Linked DNA regions of Homo sapiens: all the other regions are linked to region 3. The links are contacts of gene promoters, found by promoter capture Hi-C in blood cells and fetal thymus (Javierre and others, 2016). All regions are on one chromosome and are shown on one strand. The core of a region is centred on a gene start or on the middle of the fragment in contact, and the rest is flanking DNA. Distances in the headings are between cores, read along the strand shown. Region 1 holds the start of TRS-TGA4-1 (tRNA-Ser (anticodon TGA) 4-1). Region 2 has its middle 5.3 kb from the start of POM121L2. Region 3 holds the start of H2BC13 (H2B clustered histone 13). Region 4 has its middle 4.3 kb from the start of TRQ-CTG1-2.

Region 1 (2,700 bases), core at 192-2,691, 300 kb after region 3:
AAACTAAAAATACAGAAAAAAAAATAGCTGGACATGGTGGTGCATACCTGTAATCCCAGCTACTCGAGAGGCTGAGGCAGGAGAATCTCTTGAACCAGGGAGTTGGAGGTTGCAGTGAGCCAAGGTCCTGCCACTGCACTCCAAGCCTGGCGACAGAGCAAGACTCCATCTCAAGGAAAAAGAAAAAAAGAAGTGAGTCACCATTTGCACGAGCTTCCTGGTGGAATGGAGAAGTGCTAAGGCAGCAACAGCAAGGATCTTGTTCCAAGAACATGGGTAAGGGAGCTGATTAGTTTCCTAAGACTGCCCTAACAAATTACTATAAACTGGGTAACTTAAAAAGACAGATTTATTCTTAAGATTTTGGCCGGGTTGGTTGTTTTCTAGGTGCTCTGAGGGAAAATCTGAGACCTCTTTCCTTGCTCCTGATGGTTGAAGAAAATCCTTGGCATTCTTGGTTTGTAATTGCATCACTCCAGTCTCTGCCTCCCTCTCAACATAGCTTTTGAACTAGTGACTATGTGTCTGTGTCTCTAAATTTCTCACTTCCTATAAGGACAGCAGTCACTGGATTACTGGATTTAGAGCCTACCTGAATCCAGCATGATCTTCTCTTAACTTGATTAAATCAGCGAAGACTGTTTTCAAATAGGTCACACTCACAGGTACCACAGGTTAGGATTTCAACATATCTTTCTGGGCAACACAATGCAATTCACTTCAGGAGCAACTGCCTTTTTGTCTGCCCTAAACGAAAATGCATGTGGGAAAACTGTATCTGCAAGAGAGTTCGAGGGTCTCAGGTGTAAAAGAGATTCTCTCGTTTGTATCTGAAAGTCTGTCTGAATCTACTTGGTGGTACTTTGGCCAAGCATTTCAATTCCCAGAACTCAAAGCTGTAATCCCTGAGATTCCCCATTAAAGAATAAACAATAAAAGCCTGGTTCTGCAGTGTTTTCCTGAACCAACAGTCTTTAATCCTAGGGGGTAAAAAGGTATTAATATAGCTAGATTTAATGTGGCATTCACAAGCTCTTTTACGTTAGGAGGGACAGACAATGTTCTCAAGCTGCAAAATTTTGGAAAACATGTTATCTAAGCTTCTCCATATTCCCCTGGCTCCTGGGACTGCCTGCTTCCCTCCCTGGGGAAGGTGAAAAGGAGTGAGTTTTCCTGAGAGGATGGAGACCTTCCCATCAACTTTTTCTTCAGAGGGTCCACGAGGGCTAGGTCTTCCCTGCCCCTTCTCATCCTGCACCCCTGCTCAAATTGGGTTTCAACGAATTCTTTAAGCCAGAGAAAGGACAAAGCAGTTCAAAGCTGTTGAAGATATTTCTGGTTTAGTATTCAATACTGAAAGCAAAAGCAAATGACTCCAAGGTCATAATTCCTTCAAATTTCCTCTAGCAGGTTTCCTGTGCTATTGTCATTTGAGGCTGTGAAGCTACTAGGATCAGACCCTCAGCTCCAAACTCCCTTTCTGCTGGTTTCTCACAAATACCTGTGAACAGGTGCATCAACCGTGACTAGCAAGTGGAGTTCTAGGGGGAGAGAAAATCCAAGTCTCTTGTCTCAGAATGCTCCTTTGAACTCCACTTTTCTCAACTGAATTCCAATTCAGTATGGATGACTTATTTCATCTAAAAGCTGGAAGCTCTTAATGCACCTAGAAAATTCTTTGTTACTAGACTTAGTAACCAGGCACCAAAACATCTTTTACTGTAGTATCTACTTACCATACTACCCAAGAATGGCACACTGCTCACATCTTCAAAAGCTTAAACCAAGAGCACTACACAGGTGCGTAGTCGTGGCCGAGTGGTTAAGGCGATGGACTTGAAATCCATTGGGGTTTCCCCGCGCAGGTTCGAATCCTGTCGGCTACGGTTTGGTTTTAGCCTGACTTCTCCCAAATAGTTTCCTTCTAATTGCACCCCAAAGGCAACTGAGTCTCCTGGATTACAATTGTGTCATCTCCTTTGGTAACACTGCGTTGAACTCTGCATTCTAGCTGTCATCATCATTATTAACCCTGCGTTGTAGTTTACCTCTTTCTCTGAGTCCATTACTTTCCTCCTCCTCCAACATCCGAGACAACCGTGTCTCGAGTAAGAGAGAATCTATTGCTGTGGTGTAAACACCACCTAACGTTAATCCTGATTTGAGGAAGGCAATTCTCTTTTCCTCACCTACAAGCTCTGAGAATCGAAGTCAGACTCCATCGAGTTTTCTCTGTAGATAAGTCTAAGTTGCTTGTCTGGTGTGTGAAGATTTTGCCTATAGTGTATTAAGTGTTTTGTTAGCCCAAGTTTAGGGACTGTCATTCAACAGCAACAAGGCATTACCTGTTTTGCAGCAATAACAATGATTGTGATTGTAGCTTCAATATAAATTCGTTGGTTTGTAGACAGTACCACACACACTGTATCTTCTCGGCCTAAAAATTCGAGAGCCCAAGAATGGGAAAGGTTTATTAAACCACAGGAAGTGGATGTTAAAGCTAGCCTCTGGCTGCCAAGCCCTTATTATTTTTATTCTATTGATTTTGTTAAATGTCTTCATCTTACAGCTTAGAAAAATTCAAGGTGAAGTTCTCTGGCCCCAGTCTATTCTTCCTATCTTCTCCAGCACATTCAAAGACCAAGAACACTTATCTGGGCTTTACAGTAGATTCAGGAAACAGTGTAACTTCAGACACTC
Region 2 (2,756 bases), core at 31-2,530, 490 kb after region 3:
CCTGAACAATGCAATAGAACATTCTGCTGCATTCCCCAAGGCTCTAGGACTGTGATGGGAGAAATTAAACAGTTTAATTTCACTCAGTCAATAAAATTACCATGAATTTTGCTATTGCTTAGGCCTTGTTGCATCTTCCCAGAGAATATTTTTTCCCTTAAGATGCTGCTATGACTTTTTTCATTTGGAGCAGGTTTATATTTCTGAAGTTTCCTTAAAAAGCAAACTTAATACTGTTCTGTTTAATGAGTCAATTCAATTTTTAATTGAATTCTCAGTACCTATATTAGTTGGTATGTACAAAGTGATTTTCCTAAGATTTAAAATTTTTACTGTATTTTAATTGCTTCCAACAACTTGTGTTAAATGTTATAAAGTATATTTTACTGTGAAAATTTGAATGTACATTCAAATGACATACACACAAAAATGCAATATATAAAAGTAAAAATACTTTTTTGCAAGCACAAATTTACCCAATAAAACTGAAGAAATAAAATATTGCCAATACTTTGAAGCCCTAAATCTGCCCTTCCCAATCTCTTCTTCCTTTCTTCCTCTGCAGAATAATTATTTTATATTTATCATTCTTTTTGCTGTTCTCAATTGATTTGCCACATATCTATGCATTATGAGAGAATATGTTAAGTTTGCATGTTTCTGAACTTTATATTAATGTTGTTCACACTTCTACATTCTGCTTTGTGAAGCTGGGGCTGGGACTGCAAACCTCACCCTGTACCCTCTCTTAGACTTTGGCAGTGGAGGACTCTAGAAGGACACTGGAAGGCTGGAAAAGAGAGAAGAAACTCTCAATTCTGTTGTTCTCTTCCTGTTAGCATCATCCCAGCAGCACTTCACGCTGTAGTAGCAGTAAGTTCCAGCAGCAATTAGTTCACGTTTTCAGGGTTGTTTTCCACACTCCCAGAACCAGCCTCATCATATCCTCTCAGAGTTCACAGCACCAGCTGGCCAGTGACCCCTCCTCAGAGATCTGGCTTCAGCACTGAGTCTCTTTCTCTAAGCTTCTAGCTTCTAATAACCCCACCTCTTGCACGTGTGTTTCCTCAGCTCTTGGGGTAGTAGCTGTTTCATGCTGTCACTACTGTTTCTTTTTGCCTTTTTAGTCTTCCAACACCCATTTTACCAATTCCATCTAGTAATCCTGTTAAAATAATCAGTGTGATCTCTGTTTTCCTTACTTGATACTAATACACCTCATGTGTATGAATCAAAAGACAAAATGTATTTTCCAGTCTTTGAACTTTATATATATACTGTCTTTTTATTCTTTGCCTGCCTTCTTTTGCACAACTTTTGGTTTGTGATATTCATCCATGTTATTGAATGTACCTGGAGACCATTCAGTTTACGTTGTGGTATTGTATTCCCCTGCGCAGGTATATCACAATTAAATTCTCTGGTGTTCGTTTTTGTGAATACACATTCAGATACCTTCCAGATTTTTTATATTCTAAATAATACTGCTATAAACATTCATGTATTTGCCTTGTAGTACAAATGTATAAGCTTTCTATAAGGCAGTGGTTTCCCAAATATTGGGTTTTATAGTTTTAGCTCTTATATTTAGCTCTTTAATCCATTGAGTCAATTTTTGTATATGGTGTGAGGTAAGTGTCAAACTTTATTCATTTGCACATGTCTGTCAATTTGTCCCGGCACCATTTGTTGGAAAGACTATTCTTTTCCTACTGAATAGTCTCAGACTCTTGGAAAAAGTCAGTTGGCCATAGACATATGGGTTTATTTCTGGCCTCTCAACTGTAGATTCCATTCATCTATATGTTTATGCTTATGGCAGTACAACATTGTTTTAATTACTGTTGCTCTATAGTAAATTTTGAAATCAGGAAGTGTGAGTCTTTCAACTTTGTTCTAGTTTTTCAAGGGTTCCATGCAATTGTAGGTGCATTTTTAGGGTTGAAGAAATTCCCTTCTATTTCTAGTTTGTTGAGACTTTTTAACATGAAAGAGATCTTTTGAGATGGTCATGTGGTTTTTGTTTTTTATTCTGTTGACATGGTGTATCATATTAACTGATTTTCAGAATTTAAAACAATCTTGCACTTCTGGGATAAATCCCACTTGGTAATGATATCTAGTTCTTTTTATATGTTGTTGGATTCATCTTGCTGGTGTTTTGTTGAGTATTTTTATGTCTGTATTCATAAGAAATATTGGTCTGTAGTTTTCTTTTCTTGTGATGGCTTTGCCTGGTTTTGGTATAAGGATACTGGTACTGGCCTTGTAGAATGAGTTGAGAAGTGTTTCCTCCTCTTCTGTTTTTTGGAAGAGTTTGTGAAGAGTTGGTATTAATTCTTTTAAGTGTTTGGTAGAATTCAACACTGAAGCCATCTAAGTCTGGACATTTATTTGTATATAGTTTTTTTATTACTAATTTATCTCTTTACTTATTACAGGTCTAGTCAGATTGTCTATTTCTTCTTGAGTCAGTTTCAGTAGTTAGCATCATTACAGGGATTTGTCTATTCCATCTAAGTTATCTAATGTTTTGGCATACAGTTTTTCGCAGCTGTCCTTTACAGTCTTTTTATTTCTATATGGTTAGTAGTAATGTTCACTCTTTCATTTTGGATTCCAATAATTTCAGTTCTCTTTTTTTCTTGGTCACTCTATCTAAAGGTTTGTTAATTTTATTGATCTTTTTGAAGAGCTAGTTTTTCATTTCATTGATTTTCTTGACATTTTTCTATTATTAACTTCATTAATTTCAC
Region 3 (2,700 bases), core at 45-2,544:
GGGTGGGAAAGCTCGGGAAATTTTAATTTCAATGAATTTTCAGAAAATGCTTCAAAGAGAACTACCTGGCACCATAAGTAACTGTTCTAATTAGTCTAATAATTATTCTCAACTCAATCATTAATGTTCAAATGCAATTAATTATACAGATTCGAGAGATATTTCTCAGAAATGAAGAATCCAAGTCGTTGATCTAGATTTGGATTGAACGTCGAATGCCCGGTTTGTTATTTACCAAGACCCAGAAAACATCTGGCCCCAAAGCAGACATGTTTGCTTCAACAGACTAAAAGTAAAACCCGACGGTGAACCATACAGAATTCAACATACTTGGATAATGCCAGCTTAGGAAAAACTAAATTTTCTTCCACTAAGCTTAAGATGAAGGCGTGTTTAATACTTTTAATGTTATCCAGGCTTTTTATAAAGCTAACGAGATTGTCACTACCTAACCAAGACACCGAAGACTGATCTACGTAACCTTTGGAGTGGTTTAGAAGTAGGCAAAGACGAGAAATTACATTAAACATAGTGCTCAGTTCTTCCACAAAATTGTAGGTGGCTCTGAAAAGAGCCTTTGGTTCCTTTGGGATTGAGTTGCTGCAAACTAATCCAGGCTTCTACTTGCCCTTCGCCTTGTGGTGGCTCTCGGTCTTCTTGGGCAGTAGCACGGCCTGGATGTTGGGCAGGACGCCACCCTGTGCGATGGTGACTTTGCCCAGAAGCTTGTTGAGCTCCTCATCGTTGCGGATGGCCAGCTGGAGGTGACGCGGGATGATGCGAGTCTTCTTGTTGTCGCGGGCCGCGTTGCCAGCCAGCTCCAGGATCTCGGCGGTCAGGTACTCCAGCACCGCCGCCAGGTACACCGGCGCTCCAGCACCGACCCGCTCCGCATAGTTGCCTTTGCGGAGCAGGCGATGCACTCGGCCTACGGGAAACTGAAGCCCGGCCCGAGAAGAGCGGGTCTTGGCCTTGGCGCGAGCTTTGCCTCCCTGCTTGCCACGCCCAGACATGGCAAAAGGCCTATTATCTATACGGTCAAGAAAGACTGAAGTGAAACTAGAAAAACGTACATTTTATAGCCTCTACTGGGCGCGAAAAGGAAGCTGTGCGATTGGCTTACGTTTTATTTTTATTTAGACCAATAGGACTCGATTATGCAGGATACCTATTTTGATTGGGCAAAACTGGCATCTGTCGTCATCCACGGATAATTACCAATCAGCAGAGACCTTCCCACTACCTCGGCCGCATAAACTATTATATAAAAAGAGGAGACCGACTTCTTGTTTTGGTTTTGCCACTATTGTTTCATTATGCCCGAGCTGGCCAAGTCTGCTCCCGCCCCGAAGAAGGGCTCCAAGAAGGCGGTGACCAAGGCCCAGAAGAAGGATGGCAAGAAGCGCAAGCGCAGCCGCAAGGAGAGCTACTCCGTGTACGTGTACAAGGTGCTGAAGCAGGTCCACCCCGACACCGGCATCTCTTCTAAGGCCATGGGAATCATGAACTCCTTCGTCAACGACATCTTCGAGCGCATCGCAAGCGAGGCTTCCCGCCTGGCGCACTACAACAAGCGCTCGACCATCACCTCCAGGGAGATCCAGACCGCCGTGCGCCTGCTGCTTCCGGGGGAGCTGGCCAAGCACGCGGTGTCGGAGGGCACCAAGGCCGTCACCAAGTACACCAGCTCCAAGTAAATTCTCAAGCTCTTGTCCAACCCAAAGGCTCTTTTCAGAGCCACTCACTATTATCTAAAGAAGAGCTGGTTCGCTCTTCCTATCACTGGGGGGCGAGGGGTCATAAATCATTTTGATCTATCCACTAAATTAATCTAGCTCTTTGAAAGCCATTTAAGGTGAAATGTACATGAGGTACGTGCATATAGCTACCAACACCATAGAGGGTCCGACCTTTGCGCTTGAGGGCATAAACTAAGTCCTTAGCAGGGACTGCTTTGCGCTTTGCTCGTTCCGTGTAAGTCAGTCAAGCGCATCCGGGATCACGTTATCCGGAAATTCCTTGAGCATCCACGGGTTTCTAAAAAGATGAGACCAGAATGCGTTTGACACCGCCAGGCCAGGCTCCAGGTGGTGGGTCTGGTGATGTCTGGATGTTGCACAGCAACTTGCGGTGGCGCCCCCTTTACCCAATCCTTTCCCTCACTTGCGCAACCAGACATGATTTTAAGGCACGACAAAAGACCCGAGGTAAAAACCAAAAACAGCACTAGGAAAACAAGGCTGGCGTTTTTAATCTTTCCGACTAAACTGGAAACTAGAGGGGTGGGCGCGGTGGCTCATGCCTGTAATCCCAGCACTTTGGGAGGTGGAGGCGGGCGGATCCCTTGAGCCCAGGAGTTCGCAACCAGCCTGGGCAACATAGCAAAACCCCGTCTCTGCAAAAAGCACAAAAATTAGCCAGGAGTGGTGGCGCGCCCCTGTTGTCCCAGCTACTTAGGGGGCTGATGTAGGAGGATGGCTTGAGCCTGGTAGGCGGAGTTTACAGTGAGCTGAGATCGCACCACTGCACTCCAGCCTGGGTGATAAAGCCAGGCCTTGTCTCAAAAAAAAAAGTGGGAGATCAGTAAAAGTTAACACCTTGCCTTCTCCTAATTGTCAATGCCTGCTAGCAAAAGATGCCAGAGTAGATTTTTAAAAGTTTTTCTTGTTTTCACCCAAACCCAACTGTTTTTCGTATACT
Region 4 (2,700 bases), core at 190-2,689, 280 kb after region 3:
AGCTGAGACTTTCATTGCCCCAGGCTGTAAAGAACCCCCTACCCCCATCCCAGAATGAAAGTCAAATAGCCAGATATCTACTTCCATGTTATTTCTGGAATCCTTGAGCCTAATTTTTTTTTTTTTTTTGAGTTGGAGTCTCACTCTGTCGCCCAGGCTGGAGCGCAATGACAAGATCTCTCCTCACTGTAACCTCTGCCTTCTGGGTTCAAGCAATTCTCCTGCCTCAGCCTTCTAAAGTGCTGGAATTACAAATGTGAGCCGCCGCGCCTGGCCCGGTGAACTCTTTTAATGGTGAACTTCAAGTCACAACAGTAACTATCAGTTCAACTACACCAAGGTTACTGAAGATAATGGCTTCTCCACCCAAGCAGGTCATATACAAATTCCAAATAGAATGTGGCATCACCCTGAAGGAATTCCCTTCACAATGTTGGGGAAATTTACCAAGATGGCTTCAGAGTAGACTAACTTTACATAGCACATTTTTCAAAGAGACACATTTATTCAGAGTCATGATTAGACTATTACATTTGGCATCCAACAGCCTAGGTGCAAAAAAAAAAAAACACACTATATTAAAACCCTTTGTTGAAATGATTTATACTTTCCTCAGAACAGAAACTAAAATAACCTATTATACAATTAGTCATAAATACAGTCCTCAAGTTTTTTGCCCATATACATGAGTATTTGTCTAATACATGTCTTCTTTGTAGCAGTTAGGCCCTTCCACCACTGGGCTTGGCTGAGTTCACAAATCGGTTGTAATCTGCAGCTTCCCTGTCACTTCTTTGACTCTCCTTTCCTGGTAAGCTTTGTTTCCTGGCAGTAATTAAAATCTTCTACCACTGCCGTAACTACTGCTGCTACGGAACTGCCATAGCCACCTTGGTTTCATGGTTTGGCAAAGTATTGGCTTCCACCACCATAGGGACCAGAGCTTCTGCCTCCAAAGTTTCCTCCCTTTATGGGTCCAAAATTTGAAGACCGATCGTTGTAATTGCCAAAATCATTGTAGCTTCCACCACCTCCAAAATTGCTTCCATCATTATCAAATCTGTTATAGCCATTCCCACTGCCACCCTATCTACCACCACCACTTCTGCCACCAAAGCCAGCACAACCACTGAAGTTTCCTCCACGACCGAAGTTGTCATTCTCACCAAAACCACCTCCAACGCCACCACCAAAGTTTCCAGAACCACTTCGATCTCTTTGGCTGGATGAAGCACTAAACATCTTTTGCTTTGACAGAGCACTCCTAAAGTCACAGTTGTGGCCATTCACAGTGTGGTATTTCTGAATGACAATCCTTTCCATGGAGTCATGGTCATCAAAAGTTACAAGGCAAAGCCCCTGTTCTTGCCACTGCCTCGGTCAGTCATGATCTCAATCACTTCAATTTTTCCATACTGTTCAATATAATCTCTTAGTTTATGTTCTTCAGTTCTTCTTTAACATCTTTATCACAGTTAAGTGGGCACCTGGTCTTTGAGAATCTTCTCTTGAAACAGCTGTCTTTGGTTCCACAAATCTTCCATCCACCTTGTGCGGCCTTGCATTCATGGCTGTATCCACCTTTTCCATACCGGCATATGTGACAAACCCAAAGCCCCTGGAGTGCTTGGTGTTTGGATCTTTCTTTACTACACAGTCCGTGAGCGTTCCCTATTGCTCAAAATGGCTCCTCAGGCTCTCATCAGTTGTTTCAAAGCTCAACCCTCCTGGCCAGGTGCAGTGGCTCATGCCTGTAATCCTAGCACTCTGGGAGGCCAACCTGGACAACATAGTGAAACCACGTCTGTACTACACACACACAGACACACACACACACACACACACACTTAGCCAGGCGTGGTGGTGCCCGCCTGTAGTCCCAGCTACTTGGGAGGCTGAGGCAGGAGAATCACTTGAACTCAGGAGGCGGAGGTTGCAGCGATCCCAGATTGCGCCACTGCACTCCTCCAGCTTGGCGACAGAAAGAGACTCGTCTCAAAAAAAACAAAAACAAAACCGAAAAAAACAAAATTCAACCCTCCAATGACAATGAAAAGCTTCAGCAGCTGTTCGGGCTCTTTAGGAGACGCTGACTTAGATATGATGGCAGTGGGAAGAAGGGCGTTTAACAGTGCTTCCTCAGCAGTGTCCACAGGCGGAAAAGGCCAGGTTTACTTTTAGTATCTGAATAGTATAGTTGTCTTATTTTATTTATTTATTTTTTAGTACTGTTATTGTTTAGTACAAGAATAAGAATTTTAGCTATTAAGCATAGAGTGAAAATCTTGTGAGCTTTGTTAAGATACTGTCAATCATTGAAATATGAATGGATTTTTACTATTTTAGGGATAAAATGCTTCAATAATTAATAATTTGTGAAAAACTTTATATTTTATGTAATATTAAGAATTAATAAAATTGAAATTAATATAAGGAAGTTAATATAAATATAAGAGTTCTTTAGATTGCTGTATAGGAAGAACATCACATACTTTTATTCTCAACAAATATTATAAATATTTACATTAGAATAAAATGAAGAATAATAAAGTTGTAATTATATCTTAATTCTTCATTTCTAGAATATTTAAAAATACCTTCAAAAACTATTTTCTATATTAGCCTTGAGTCTTTAAACAAAAGTTCTATTTGACAATTTTTTTCATTTTGTCAAAATAACTTAAAAGCAAAATGTCTATT

Evidence for each region. Contacts are between HindIII fragments. The CHiCAGO score rates a contact against its expected background, and 5 or more counts as called.
Region 1: a contact is called between a fragment that was not itself captured here and the fragment with the promoter of H2BC13 in region 3, in 3 of 17 cell types (M2 macrophages, M0 macrophages and M1 macrophages). The highest score is 7.0, in M2 macrophages.
Region 2: a fragment that was not itself captured here is called in contact with the fragment with the promoter of H2BC13 in region 3 in 1 of 17 cell types (M2 macrophages); the score reaches 5.7 in M2 macrophages.
Region 4: a contact is called between a fragment that was not itself captured here and the fragment with the promoter of H2BC13 in region 3, in 1 of 17 cell types (M2 macrophages). The highest score is 5.1, in M2 macrophages.

What each region holds. Positions count from the first base shown.
Region 1 is chr6:27,505,014-27,507,713 of GRCh38, reverse strand. It overlaps TRS-TGA4-1 (tRNA-Ser (anticodon TGA) 4-1), which reads left to right and starts at 1,805; the gene lies at 1,805-1,886. RefSeq lists silencers at 1,813-1,872, 1,451-1,882 and an enhancer at 1,993-2,072. The HindIII fragment of the contact is 677 bases long and covers 1,103-1,779 here.
Region 2 is chr6:27,316,227-27,318,982 of GRCh38, reverse strand. No RefSeq gene overlaps it. Among named protein-coding and RNA genes, the nearest start is that of POM121L2, 5.3 kb to the right of the region's middle. The HindIII fragment of the contact is 505 bases long and covers 1,028-1,532 here.
Region 3 is chr6:27,806,523-27,809,222 of GRCh38, reverse strand. It overlaps H2BC13 (H2B clustered histone 13), which reads left to right and starts at 1,294. Exons shown (of 1, transcript NM_003519.4): 1 at 1,294-1,744. The coding sequence starts at 1,317. The coding sequence ends at 1,697. H2AC13 (H2A clustered histone 13) reads right to left here and starts at 1,050. Exons shown (of 1, transcript NM_003509.3): 1 at 556-1,050. The coding sequence starts at 1,013. The coding sequence ends at 621. It also overlaps the pseudogene H4C10P. RefSeq lists enhancers at 190-788, 707-906, 1,247-1,476, 1,727-1,826, 1,389-1,988 and 1 more. The HindIII fragment of the contact is 5,899 bases long and covers 728-2,700 here.
Region 4 is chr6:27,522,475-27,525,174 of GRCh38, reverse strand. It overlaps the pseudogene HNRNPA1P1. Among named protein-coding and RNA genes, the nearest start is that of TRQ-CTG1-2, 4.3 kb to the right of the region's middle. The HindIII fragment of the contact is 1,241 bases long and covers 819-2,059 here.